Regions from separate parts of the Homo sapiens genome. Here regions 1 and 3 are each linked to region 2. The links are contacts of gene promoters, found by promoter capture Hi-C in human tissues and cell types (Jung and others, 2019). All regions are on one chromosome and are shown on one strand. Each heading gives the region's core, a stretch centred on a gene start or on the middle of the fragment in contact. The rest is flanking DNA. Distances are from core to core; before and after follow the strand shown.

What was found. Contacts are between HindIII fragments. The study calls those that stand out against the background at their distance.
Region 1: a fragment that was not itself captured here is called in contact with the fragment with the promoter of CCL21 in region 2 in 2 of the 25 tissues and cell types used here (dorsolateral prefrontal cortex and lymphoblastoid cells).
Region 3: a contact is called between a fragment that was not itself captured here and the fragment with the promoter of CCL21 in region 2, in 1 of the 25 tissues and cell types used here (thymus).

Annotation. Positions count from the first base shown.
Region 1 is chr9:35,471,178-35,476,259 of GRCh38, reverse strand. It overlaps the pseudogene ATP8B5P. Among named protein-coding and RNA genes, the nearest start is that of RUSC2, 16 kb to the left of the region's middle. The HindIII fragment of the contact is 4,317 bases long and covers 1-3,723 here.
Region 2 is chr9:34,707,926-34,712,727 of GRCh38, reverse strand. CCL21 (C-C motif chemokine ligand 21) reads left to right here and starts at 2,592. Exons shown (of 4, transcript NM_002989.4): 1 at 2,592-2,728; 2 at 2,831-2,951; 3 at 3,046-3,228; 4 at 3,301-3,723. The coding sequence starts at 2,662. The coding sequence ends at 3,334. It also overlaps a transcript of PHF24 not described here. The HindIII fragment of the contact is 9,492 bases long and covers 1-4,802 here.
Region 3 is chr9:35,346,064-35,350,876 of GRCh38, reverse strand. The region is part of intron 11 of UNC13B (unc-13 homolog B); the gene reads right to left. Among named protein-coding and RNA genes, the nearest start is that of RUSC2, 140 kb to the left of the region's middle. The HindIII fragment of the contact is 3,146 bases long and covers 301-3,446 here.

The DNA of each region.
Region 1 (5,082 bases), core at 316-2,815, 760 kb before region 2:
TAGTGCTTAACACTCTCAAATTAGAAACAGAGCAGGGTCGATGGTTTGGTTAATTCAAGGTTGAGATTTGTTCAGTGATTAAAGAGAAGAAAAGGAGAACTAGTAAGGTACTGAGGATGCTTATGATCCCAGGGTACAGACAGGCAAGCTAGGAAAGGAAGTAAAGTCATAAGGAATTGATAGACTGGAGAAAAAAGAAAGCCAAGGGTTTATAAATCTCCATGAGATAAAAAAGCAGGAATACTTTTAAAAATCTCAAGTACGAGCCATGTACTGAGAATATGGAGGAATAAGGTTTGTGATCAAAGATTGTGAAAAGAAAGTTTATAATTCCACATTAGTACAACTCTGGACAATTACATGGTAACATGGAAATGGGTGATACAGATTTTTTTTTTTTTTTGTCCAAGAGATCATCTGAAGGATTCTTTCAGAGACCTGAAAGAGTCTACAGTGATAGGTCGTCCATAAGGATGACAATACCACCCAAAACAATAGCAGTGGTTGGGAGGGGAGGGAGAAGTTTCAAAGCCCTCAATGAATGGGGTGTAGAAGCCAGAAGCTTCCTAGATATCAACAACAAGAAGAGTTACAGATGAGTATAGCCAGAAGTCATAAGCATCACAGGAAGAAAGATTGTGTAGGAGAGAAAAACTAATGGTTAAACATGGCACAGGATAATGAGGGCAACACCTTTGGGCTTATGGTATCCAGAGTTTATGGTATGCAGAGTATGAGAGAGATGGAAGAAAAAGGAATGTTCTCAGGGAAAATCATGTTTCAATTAATGAAGGGATTGAGGCTATAGGTAAGTTTGTTTATAAGAGAACAAAAATTCCAGTGATTTAGTGAAAAATGTGTTACGGTCAATCAGTAGTGGACAGAAGGAGAGGAAAGAAACTCCAGGAGGGATTTACTCCCTAGAAGCTATAATTTTGCCTATATTGCCAAGGTCATTAGCCAAGCCCCTGGAAGATGATTTAAGGCAAATCACTGAATTTCCTTCCCCTTCCCAATCTCTTTGGATGGACAGGGGTAAGGCAACAGTTGAGAACTGGAGTCAGATGTTTGGTACATAAGTCAAGTGGCTCAGTTTGGAATTGGGTCTAGCAAGACAGAGATAAGGTGAGGAATACCCTGAAGGCAGCAGAAGAACCCCTGTGAAGGGACACTTAAAAACAAATCCATAAACAAAAGCTGGGTCCAATACTAGAGAAAACAGTAAAAACCAACTAGAGATAAGAAGAATGAATAGGAAGATATTTTTATAATTTTATAAAGCCTGTTGAATATGTCACAAATCCTTAAGTTACAAAGGAAAATGACTGATAGATTTGATTACATGAATTAAACACTTCTACACAAAATATTATTTAACAAATTAAAAACCAAAAGACAAAATGGGAAAAATAATTATAACATATGCACCAGAAAAAGGAAGAGCTAGTATTTTTACTGTATAAAGAGCATTTTCAAATAAGAAAAAAAGGCCAAAGAATATGAATAGACAGTTCACAAAGTAAGTGTAAATGGGCAATAAAGAGATGATAAGGGGAAGAAAAATAAGCACATAAAAATGATTCAACCTAATTAGTCATCAAAAAAGGTAAATTAAATAATTAGATACCATTTTTCATCAATTAAATTTCAACAGATTAAAAATTGTTAATACCAGTTCTGACAAGCATATGGGGGAAAACAAAATGTCATATATTTTTGGTGGGATTATAAAGTTATGCGAATCTACCTGGAGGGCAATGTGGCACTATTTAATGTATTAAAACGTGGCTACCTTTTGACCAATGAATTTTACTTCTAGGACTTTATTCTAAAGAAATAATTATCAGAAAAGTAGACAAAATGTATGTTCCATAATGATTACCAAAATGTCATTTGTAATCGCAAAGGAAAATGGAATAAAAATAAGAAATTAAATAAATTAAGGTACAGTGATACAACTGAATAGTGGACACCCATTCAAAATGATGATGTAGACCTAGACCTACCGACATGGAAAGATGACGACAATAATAGTGTCAAGTGAACAAAAGGAAACTGGAAATAGCATGCATACTATGATTTTATCTCCCCCATCTTCTAGATCTAGATGTACATATGTGTGTGTGTATACACATATGAAAAGCATAGGATATACTCCCCAACTTTACACTGGCTATCTAAATGGGATGGAATAATTTTAACTTTCTTCACACATTTCTGTATTATTTAATTTTTTTTTTTACAGTGAGCATGGATTATTTTTTAAAGAGAAAAAGCCAATAAAGCTATTTTTGTTTAAAAAGAACAAACGAAGATCTTCAGAATTAAACATAGGTCATTTATATAATGCTTTCTGATATTACAGGACCAGTAAAAGCTTTAATATTTCAGTGGCTAAGGGAGTCTCGATTTGTATTAAGGATGCTTCTCTGAAGCACAGCCTCACTCAGCTCCCACATGCATTTCCCATGGAGCTGTAATCACTCACCTCAGAGACCGTCACCCTCTGTCCATCCTTGTCATAAGTATCACCTGTTGGTAAGTGAACACAGCAGAGACTTGGCAAGGGTTTTAAAGGAGGGTTTGAATTTCTTTAAATTGTTGTTAAAAAAATATACATATATATCACATAAAACTTGCCATTTTAACTATTTTAAATGTAAAATGCAATGACATTAATTATATTCACAATGTTGTGCAACAATCACCACTATATATTTCCAACATTTTTTCAGCACCCCAAACAGAAACTTCCCATTTTTTCCCATCACCAGCCCCTAGTAACCTCTAGTCTATTTTTTGTCTCTATGAATTTGCCTATTCTAGATAGTTCACATAAGTAGAATCATAAAATTTTTGTCTTTTTGTGTTTAGCTTACATCACTTAGCATAATGCTTTCAAGGTTCATCCATGTTGTAGCATGTATCAAATTTCATTACTTTTTATGGATGATTCACATTCCATTGTATGTATATGCTATACCACAGTTTCTTTATCCATTCATCTGTGGATGGACATGTGGGTTATTTCTATCTCTGGACTTATGCGAATAATGTCACAATGAACGTTGGTATACATGTATCCGAGTTCTTGTTTTCAAGTTTTGGGGGTATATACCTAGGAATCAAATTGCTGGGTCATATGGTGATTTAAAGGAGGGGCCTTAAAAGCTTATTTATTCTGATTCCTTCATCCTAGACTTGCAGTCAAGATGCCTGCCCCCCAGTCTCCTCAGGCCACCTAGCTCCCAGTTCCCAGTAAGCTCCTTTCCCTAAGCCAATGGTAAGAAGAGGTTTGCTTGGGCCTCAACTCTTCTCCCCTAAGTGAGAATAAGATGAAGCTAGAAGTTAGTCACTGGATCTGTGATAGACTTCACACCTCAGGAAGCCCTCCAATCATAAGAGTTACCCAGAAGAGATGTGGACACAGTTTTAGAATGTTTGGGATTCTTGACCAGTGGATGACAGACTGAATAGGGGTAGAAGACATGTCTGATGCCAAGCATGGAAACACTCATGGTCCTTTTCAACTTTACCCAGTATATGGTCAGGTCAGAGAATTAAGAGGCTCACCCAAATCAGCTCATCCAAAAATAAGCCTTCAGAGTTTATATAAGTGAAAATTTGTTTGACATGGTTACCAAACAAATAATAGGAAATATAGGAAATAATAGGAAATATTAGAGTGCTCTAGTCTTTTTTTTTTTTTTTTTTAGACAGGAGTTTCACTCTTGTCACCCAGGCTGGAGTGCAGTGGCATGATCTTGGCTCACTGCAACTTCCACCTCCCGGGTTTAAGAAATTCTCCCACCTCAGCCTCCCAAGTAGCTGGGATTACAGGCATGTGCCACCATGCCTGGCTAATATTTTTGTATTTTTTGTTGAGATGGGGTTTCACCATGTTGGCCAGGCTCGTCTCGAGCTTCTGACCTCAGGTGATCCGCCTGCCTCAGACTCCCAAAGTATTGAAATTACAGGCGTGAGCCAACGCACCCGGCCTAGCTTTTTTTAATTAAAAAATTTCAATTACTTATTGATATGAAATTTACTTAGTTAACATATAATTATCCATTTTAATGTGTACAATTTAGAGGCATTTAGTGCATTTACAATGTGCAACTACCACCTCTCTCAAGTTTCTAAACTTTTTCGTCACCCCAGAAAGATTATTCCATGTGTTCTAGTTTTTTAGATGTGATTACCTTCCTCTGTTAGCTAGGACACTGGGTATGACTGTTCACACACATGAGGACTTAACTCTATCACAAAAACAAGCTTATGCTTAAGGCATAAGATAAATAAGGGATTGGGCCTGGGAGACACTGATCAAACTCTGACTACCCTTTGATGGTTTCTCTCAATAATATTTATTGCTGTAAAGGGGAATCAAGAAATTAGCAGCTTCAGTAATACATTGACTGCTCCATTTAATTTATTTTTAATTTTATTATTAATTGACAAATACTAATTGTATATATTTATGGATACAATGTGATGTTTTCATATATGTATACACCATGGAATGATTATATCAAGCTAACTAACATATTTATCACCTTGCATACTTATTTTTTTGTAGTGAGAACATTTAAAACTCTTTTAGTAATTTTGAAATATGCAATACATTATTATTAACTAGGATCAACATGCTGTGCAATGGATCTTGAAGACTTATTCCTCCTGCCTAACTGAAACTTTGTACCCTTTGACCAACATCCATCTGATTTAAAGTGGGAGTGAACTGAGTACATAGACATTGGGGACTCCTTGAGGACAGAGACTAAGTCTTGCACATCTCGGTATTCTCAATGCCCAACACAATAGATTGTACCTATAAGATGCTAAATAAATGCTTTTTGGTTAGAACTGTTTGGGCTGGGTGGTCTTTGCTTAGAGAATAGAGACAGTTGTGAGAATAGGAGATAAATGTGAATTCCAGAGGCTTACAGATTTAGAGCTAGATTAGTCTTGAAAACAATTTGCAAAGTAAAAATTTCCCAGGACTTGGGGAAAGCAGGAAGACATGCATATCATAGAGCTTCCCATTAATAGAACATTTGTTGAAAATCATAATGTTCTGAG
Region 2 (4,802 bases), core at 1,343-3,842:
TAAATATGCTCAAAGAGCTGAAGGAAACCATGGGCAAAGAGTTAAGGGAAATCTGAAAAATGGTGTATGAACAAAATGAAACTATCAATAAAGAGATGGAAATTAGTAAAAAGAAAAAAAGGACTCAAGCAGAAATTCTGGAAGCAAAAATACAATAACTGAAATGTACAATTCACTAGGGGCAATCAACAACTAATTTAAGCAGAAAAAAAAGGATCAGTATTCTTGATGATAAGACAATTAAAATTATCAAGTATGAGAAGAAAAATAAACGAGCCTCAGGGATACCATCAAATGTACCTCATCACAGGAGTCTCAGGAGGAGAAGAGAGGGAACAGGGCATTAAAAAAATTGAAGAAATAATGACAAAACATCTGAAATCTGATGAAAAGCATGAATATACATACCCAAGAAGTTCACAAACTCTAAGAAGGATAAACTCAGAGATCCACACCAAGACAAATTATAGTCAAATTGTTGAAACCCAAAGATTTTAAAAGCAGCAAGAGAGAAGTAACTCATTATGTACAAGAGATTCTCAATAAGATTACCAGCTGATTTCAGAAACCATGGGAGGCCAAAAGACAATGGGGGATATATTTAAAGACTGAAGAAAAAAAAAAGTCAAACAAGAATTCTATATATCCAGCAAAACTATGCTGCAAGAATTAAGGAGAAATAAGACATTTCCAGATAAACAAAACTTAGGAAGTTCATTAATAGTAGACCTGCCCACAAGAAAAGCTAACGGGAGAAAGAAAAAACAAACAAACAAACAAACAAATGCTAAAGGAAGACCTTCAGAATGAAACAAAAGGACAAAAAATAATAACTCACAGCCACACAAAGAAACAAAGATCTCTGATAAACATAACAACATAGCAGGCTGGGCGCAGTGGCTCATGTCTGTAATCCCAGCACTTTGGGAGGCCAAGGTGAGCGGATCATTTGAGGTCAGGAGTTTGAGACCAACCAGGCCAACATGGTGAAACCCCATCTCTACAAAAAATAGAAAAATTAGCTGGATGTGGTGACAGGTGCCCATAATCCCAGTTACTCGGGAGGCTGAGGCAGGAGAATGGCTTGAACCCGGAGGGTGGAGGTTGCAGTGAGCCAAGATCACGCCACTGCACTCCAGCCTGGGCGAAAGAGTGAGACTCTGTCTCAAAAAAAAAAAAAAAAAAGTAACAACATTGCCAGGTATGCTGGTTCACACTTGTAATCCCATTACTTTGGGAGGCCAAGGCGGGTGAATTGCTTGAGGTCAGGCGTTCGAGACTAGCCTGGGCAACATAGTGAGACCTCGTGTCTACAAAAAATACAAAAATTAGCCAGGCATGGTGGCCCCACTACTCAGGAGACTGAGGTGGAAGGATCACTTGAGCCCAGGAGGTCGAGGCTGCTGTGAGCTGAGATTGTGCCACCGCACTCCAGCCTGGGTGACAAAGCGAGACCCTGTGTCAAAAAAAAAAAAAAAGATAAAAGCTAGTATTGTATTTTTAGTTTGTAGCCCCACTTTTTTCTATATAATTTAAAAGGAAAATGCATTAAACAATAATTATAAATCTATGTCAATGGGAACACAATGTATAAAGATGTAATCTGTGACAATAACAATATAAAGAAGGGACTAAAATGTATACGAGCAAAATGTTTATATACCATTGAAACTAAGTTGGTATTATTCAAACTAGGTTGTTATCAGTTTAGAATGTTAATTATAATCACCAAGGTATCCATTAGGAAAATAACTACAAAATATATAGAAAAGGAAAGCAAAGGGGAATCAAAATGGTTATGCTACAGACCAGGTGCAGTCGCTCATACCTATAATTCCAGCACTTTGGGTGGCCAAGGCAGGAGGATCGCTTGAGCCCAGGAGTTCAAGACCAGACTGGGCAACATAGCAAGACCTCATCTCTAGAAAAAATAAAAATGAAAAATGAAAACAGTAGCCGGACGTAGTGGCATGTGCCTGTGGTCCCAGCTCCTCAAGAGGCTGAGGCAGGCAGATCATTTGAGCCCAGGAGCTCAAGACTAGCCTGGGCTAGACATCGTGAAACCTCGTCTCTACAAAAAAAAAATAGAAAAATCAGCCAGGCGCAGTGGTGCTTGCCTGTAGTCCCAGCTCCTGGGGAGGTTGAGGTAGGAGGATCACTCGAGCCCAGGAGGCGGAGATTTCAGTGAGCCAAGATCAACCACTGCACTCCAGCCTGGGTGACAGAGTTAGACCCTGTCTCAAAAAAAAAAAAAAAAAAAAGAACTCTTACAATTTAATAATCAGATTTGCTGGAAGGAGGGGAAGGGTATGGATCCTGGAGCGTAGTGAGGAGACAGTCATGGTGTTCCAGGGGAGAGGCAGTGAGGCCTGCATGAAAGCAGTAGCTGGGAATAGAAGGAAGGCTCAGGCCCAGACATATTCAACTAATGAGGACATAAAATTTGGCAGCTGAGGACTGTCCACTTAGTTTGAGATAAGTGGGGCTGGGTGCCAGCAAATCCAGCTTTCAGGAAGGAAAAGGAGTGGGGATAAGTTAAGGGAAGTGAAAGTGTCTAGCTACATAAATAGCAGGCCAATCCCAGCCCACGCACAGACCCCCAACTTGCAGCTGCCCACCTCACCCTCAGCTCTGGCCTCTTACTCACCCTCTACCACAGACATGGCTCAGTCACTGGCTCTGAGCCTCCTTATCCTGGTTCTGGCCTTTGGCATCCCCAGGACCCAAGGTACCAAGGCAGGGAGGGGCCTTGCATGGGGCTAAGGGGATCAAGAGGCCTGGATAGGAGCTTGCCAGCAGCCCCTGGCTCCCTGTGAATCCCACCCTGCAGGCAGTGATGGAGGGGCTCAGGACTGTTGCCTCAAGTACAGCCAAAGGAAGATTCCCGCCAAGGTTGTCCGCAGCTACCGGAAGCAGGAACCAAGCTTAGGCTGCTCCATCCCAGCTATCCTGTGAGTGGACACAAAGGGGTGGGTACTGGCTGGTGACGGGGTGGGGAGGGCATGGTGGGCAAGACTAAGAAGGCTTACTAGCCCCCACCCGCAGGTTCTTGCCCCGCAAGCGCTCTCAGGCAGAGCTATGTGCAGACCCAAAGGAGCTCTGGGTGCAGCAGCTGATGCAGCATCTGGACAAGACACCATCCCCACAGAAACCAGCCCAGGGCTGCAGGAAGGACAGGGGGGCCTCCAAGACTGGCAAGAAAGGAAAGGGCTCCAAAGGCTGCAAGAGGTGAGGAATCTGAGGGATGTGGGTAAAGGGGAGCCTCAGTCAGCCCCTCACACCCCTCTTCTGCCCTCACAGGACTGAGCGGTCACAGACCCCTAAAGGGCCATAGCCCAGTGAGCAGCCTGGAGCCCTGGAGACCCCACCAGCCTCACCAGCGCTTGAAGCCTGAACCCAAGATGCAAGAAGGAGGCTATGCTCAGGGGCCCTGGAGCAGCCACCCCATGCTGGCCTTGCCACACTCTTTCTCCTGCTTTAACCACCCCATCTGCATTCCCAGCTCTACCCTGCATGGCTGAGCTGCCCACAGCAGGCCAGGTCCAGAGAGACCGAGGAGGGAGAGTCTCCCAGGGAGCATGAGAGGAGGCAGCAGGACTGTCCCCTTGAAGGAGAATCATCAGGACCCTGGACCTGATACGGCTCCCCAGTACACCCCACCTCTTCCTTGTAAATATGATTTATACCTAACTGAATAAAAAGCTGTTCTGTCTTCCCACCCAAGTACCTGTTCCCATGTGTTTATGTCCACCGAGATGCCAAGGTTCCTACAGGGTGGGGTCACACACTCTGAGCCGAAAGCTCAGGCTGAAAAATGCTATGTTCTCATCTACCCCAAGAGTTTCCTTGCCTCTCAGGTGCCTGCACCCCTGAGCAGTTAAAGGGAGGCTGAAGGACAGGGTAGGACCCAGTCTTCTGAGGCATCCTGCCAATGGAGAGGTGGTGGACATGGAGCACACACCCCCAACAGCTCTGCAGACCTCTGAGACCCTGATTCTGTCCTGCACTAACTCCAGGGGTGACCTTCGGATCTTTTCCATGACCTTCAGACCTTTCCCCAGATATCCCAGAGGCTTCCTCTCTTTTCCCTGGGAACTATTCAATGAGACCCTCCAAGTGGTTCTTTGGAAGGGTCCCTAGGAGGGAAGCTGTGGCTTGGGCCCATCTATAACACAGACAAACACAAGTTATATTGAAACCTGCCCTAGCACAGTTCCAGCCCTGAGAGAGCCCCTGGGAGGCAAAGACCCGAGGGGACTTGCTTCAGCCCTATTCAGTGAAGCTCGGGCCTTGACCTCTCCTCTTTGTTTAATGGGGCTGTTGTGCTCTCCTTCTATTCCTATCTGGGCCCCTGGACTCACTCAGCCTCCTTCCAGATGGAAAAACCTCCTCCCTTTTTTTTTCCTCCTTTCTTTCCTGGCTGGGATCCAGACTACTTTAGCCCATTTAACCCTTTGAAGTCAAGGAATAAGTCTCCTGGGGCAGGTTTTCAGAACCCCAGGATTCAGGTGTGAATCAGTCTCCTCTCCTGGAAGGCCTCAGATGGCTCTCCTCTACCTCTTCCTCCCCAGAGTGAAGACCCTTCTATTCCCCAAATCACCTCCAGGCGGGGAGAGTAGAAGCCATCAGATTGGGCCAGACAATGTGAGAAAGAAGGGAACAGATCCTGGGGAAGGGCAAGAAAGGTAGGAACCTCAAGGCCGGGCGCGGTGGCTCAGGCCTGTAATCCCAGCACTTTGGGAGGCCAAGGCAGGCGGATCATGAGGTCAGGAGTTCCTGACCAGCCTGGCCAACATGGTGAA
Region 3 (4,813 bases), core at 624-3,123, 640 kb before region 2:
TTTCTTTCTTTCTTTTCCAGTTTGTTGTTCTGGTGAAGACTCCACTTACTCAAAAGTTTACCCCTGCCTGTGCTTATAGCACAAAGTATTTTCCCTTTGTTGAGTGATGGCAACCGTTCACTTGGAGAAAGGACAATGGTTTACGTATTTTAAACTTAGCAGGAAAAATATTTCTTTACCTAATTCTAGAATAAAGTGGCACAGTACGCACACACTGTCCAGACGTAGGTGGCATTTAGCATGAGAGAGGCAGGTAGAGAGGCAGGTAGCCAAAGAGACAGGTATCATGAACTCACAACTGGGGATGAAGGAGGTTTAGGCTTAGCTTGGTGCTCCTGAGCTCCACTTAATACTCTCTAAGGGCTTGCTGCAGCTAGTCAATATCTGGGTTTGGCTTTCCTGGCCCACAGAGGATCTTTCAGAGCACCACAATAAGTGATTGTCCAGCACACTGTCCACTGCTCAAGTATTAATAACAAAGGGTTGCTCTAATCCTCTGCCTGGCCCAGAGAGAATATCACATGGGACATGTGGGGGAGGGTTACCTCACAGAGGGCTCCAGGGTGCTTTACTCTTCTCCAATAAGGTAAAGACAGACTTGCCACCAGTCTAGTCCCTACACCCTAAGCTATTGGTGACTGCATTACAGAGGCAGAGACGATGATTACCTCATGTGGAGTGAGAATACATTCCCTTTTTACTGAGAATGTGGAGAGTGTACGGAAGCAGTAGAGTGGAAAGTACAAGGAGGAAAGCAGAGATCTAGGAGGCACATGGGACAACTAATATTCCAGTCCTGCTAGGTCTCCTGGGAGGGGTAAGATGGATTGGTGGGAGACATGCTACTCTTCATGTTCTTTGACCAGGGATGCTTTCCCCATTTTCTAGATTTGATGGAGATTTCTAAATCTTCTAAACTCTGCCTCCTTTTATTTTCCCAGTACTCAAGTTAATCCTAAAAGTGGGAAAATGCCTTAAAGAACACAGGCAGACTGCTCTCATGGCAACCCATTTTCAGGAAAGGCCACCACCTACATCTAGTCTGTGGGCCTGGAATTTAAAAGCATTGTGCTTCCCCAGACTAGGAGGAACCAGAAGGACGAGTCAGAGGACTTGGGATAAAGATGAAGCTGATTCTTTTTACTAGAAATAACTAGGCCAAGAACCAAGAGACAGAAACTGCATGTATTCCCATTTCACATCTCTCCTTTTCTTTCCAGCTTATCTAACAACTCTAATTCATTGAGGAATTCTTCATCTAAGAACCCTATCCATCCTGTGAGGCATTACTGCTTCACCTCAAGGTCTCATGGGGCCAGGAACAGCCATGCCCCTAATCTGGCCAACTCAGTCTAGCCTGCGAGGATGCACTACCTGCACAACCAGAATTTCTGGGTCTTGGGCTTGGTGCCCAGCTGCCTAGGTAGACCACGCTCCAAAGTCTAGAGGATGCCAAATTCTTCCTTCTCTCTTCCCACAAGGACAAAATCTGAATTTCCAAAGATACTCCTTTTTTTTTTTTTTTTTTTCCTCCCCAACCATGTAGGGATTGGGTATCCCTGATTTGCTCTTGGTATTAGCCATGAACAATGTTCCTGGCTTTACAAGGGCTGCAGCTGGCAAGTGGCCTTTCAAATTTGTCTTTAAAAAAGAAGTACTGCGGCTGGGCGTGGTGGCTCTCGCCTGTAATCCCAGCACTTTGGGAGGCCGAGGCAGGCAGATCACAAGGTCAGGAGTTTGAGACCAGCCTGGCCAATATGGTGAAACCCCCTCTCTATTAAAAATATAAAAATTAGCTGGGAGTGATGGCAGGTGCCTGTAATCCCAGCTACTCGGGAGGCTGAGGCAAGAGAATCACTTGAACCCAGGAGGCAGAGGTTGCGGTGAGCCAAGATCGCACCACTGCACTCCAGCCTGGGCAATAGAGCAAGACTGTCTCAAAAAAAAAAATTAGAATTGCTTAGTAAGCTTAGTAAACTAAGATGGAAGCTCTGTGTACAACTACATGAAGCCATGAGCAAGTGCTACTGGACTGGCATCAAGAGACTTAAGTTTGGGTCTTGTTCCACCAGTGACCTTGGATTAAACACTTGACCTCTATGTGAATTAGTTTCCTCATCTGTAAAGTGGGGGAGATAATTACAGGAATGTTATTATATAAAGCTAAAATGAGAGAACTGTACTTACTAAACTGTAAAGCACTGTCCTGTTGTTATTGCTACTGATGTGGCAAGTCCCTGAGTCAACAAAGTAGGGAAACCCATATCTAAAGCAAGCATCCAACCACCTAACTGGCACAATTTGAGTGAGCCATGACTTCTACTTCTGCCCCAGACTCCTGCCTTTCCCACTCCCTTCTAATGGTCTGCAGCAGTGCCTGGAATCCTACGAGGAGACTGTCACCCTTAAAGTTAGTCCTGCTTTCTCCTAGAAGTTTTCTTTTTAAGGTAAGGAGAAGGAGGAGTAAATCATTCAGTTCCCAACACCTCATTCAAGTGTCAGGAGGCCGGCCGTCTCTCAGACAGCCTGAACGCTGAGGAAGAGATAAATGGCTATAGAAGCCAAGCTTTATTTTTCCAATGCTGGTGAGGCCCAGAATTCATTGCCAGGTCTTCTAAGGCCAGCCTCACTTTGGTCCAGATAAGGCAGTTTGTCGGGAACACTAATGAAGCTGACTCCCCTGCTACTGCTACTGATTCAGTGTAGACCAGGCTAACCTGGGGCCTATCTGCTTCTGCCCCTCAGATCAATACTGCAGACATAAGTTTTTGTTTTGTTTTGTTTTGTTTTTGTTTTTGTTTTAGTAGAGATGGGGTTTCTCCATGTTGGTCAGGCTGGTCTCAAACTCCCGACCTCAGGTGATCCGCCCATCTCGCCTCCCAAAGTGCTAGGATTACAGGTGTGAGCCACCGTGCCCAGCCCTCCAGACATACTTGGCCTCATTTCCCGGACACCTTACAAGGTATTCCCTTCCAAACTACAGTGCTTACGACACTGGCTGGCCAGCCACACAGGGGGCAAATGGCATAGCCACTGGGTTCAGAGTCCTTTCCTGTGGCCTCCTGAAGACTGAAGGCAGAGCTGCCTGGTTCCCCATGTTACTGACAAATAGGAAATTTTCAACTAGAGCTGCCATAGCAGCTTCTCCCAGCCTCAAACAAAGATGCTTCCTTCCATATTAAACAAACAAAAGCCTCCACACCTTCTTATGAGTTGGTAGCCACTGCCCTGGGATGAACTTTGAACTCAAGAATCTCTTCTGGTGATATAGGAAGGGCACCAAACTCACTTAGTAATCCAGTCTTTGGGCTTTGAAGCAGGGGATGGAGCTCGATGTGATGCTCAGAGGACCAACCAGTCACTGTGCTGAGCTCAGTAGAATATCAGAAGCCAGAATGGGCTGAAAGGGCAACCCTCAGGGACAGGAGGCCCAATTCACCTCCTTCCCAGCCTCTCTTTGCTACTACTGTCCACAGAAGTGAAATGACAGGGAGCAAACTGTAAGAAGGACCATTTGATCTCCAAGTCAGTTGAACTGCATGAGTACTTACTGTGTGTGCCAGGGAGATAAGATGCAGTACCTGCTCTCTAATACATTAAGATTTGGAGAGAAAGATATATATAGATGATCACAATATAAAGTGATACATATTATAATAAAAGTTATAATAAAAAGTAAGCATTTAGCTGGGCTCACGCCTGTAATCACAACACTTTGGGAGGCCAAAGCAGGAAGATCCTTTGAGCCCAGGAGTTAGAGACCAGTATGGGCAAGGTAGGGAGATCACGTCTCTACAAAAAATAAAAAATTAGCTGGATGTGGTGGCATGTGCCTGTGGTCCCAGCTGCTTGGGAGGCTGAAGTGGGAGGATCGCTTGAGCACAGGAGGTTGAGGCTGTACTCCAGCTTGGGTGACAGAACAAGACCCTGTCTTTAAAAAAAAAAAAAATGAAAAAGAAAGTAAGCATTTAATTCAGGGGTTGGGAATGGAAAGGAGGTGAGAGGCCCAGCAAAACGAGGCATACAAGGCCACAGAAAAGTAATGTTTGAGCTGGGATGGGGTAAGTAGGCTCTGGAGTCCACCTAGCCTTGGAGTTTCCTTTAAGATACCCAATGTTATCTGTCTGCCCTACTTTGTTGGCCTATTGACTCTGGACAACTCTCCAAATTTCATACACACACATTCCGACAAAAACCATACCTTTCTGTGCTCTTTTCCTCAGGACTGCCTAAGGCTGGGAAAAATAAGGCAGCCCCTTTCAAGGACTATCTGCATTTGAAAAGGGAGCACATCAAAACAAAATGAATTAATCAAAAAGATTAAAGCTTTAATGATGGAAAGCTAACAATTACTGCAGGGAGTAGATCCCTTAAACCACATTGCATCACCACCAGCCTACCAACGAAAAAGAGAAAGGAAAACACCTCAGTTTTTTGAAATGGCTGATTCTTTTATCCTTCTCTCTGACTTATCAAATAAATGTGATTAGGAATGTAACTATTCCTTGTAAAAACTGCTTCTAACCCAAATCTGGCTTAGAGGAAACAACCAGGGGACCTCTGGGAAAAGGCCAGGACTCGATGTACATATATCAAGCAGCTTCCCAGTTTGTGTGAAACAATCCCAGCAAGCAGAAATCCAAGAGCTCTGAGCCCCCAACAGAGGACAGAGCATTTCTGGGCCATATATCAATTATGTTGTATGGCTAATATGGGCTAAGAGGAATGGATTTCTAGGGCCACAGCAGGTATGGGGATTCTCAGGATGTTAATCATCAAAATGATCAGGGCACAAGATATGGCAAGTGAGATT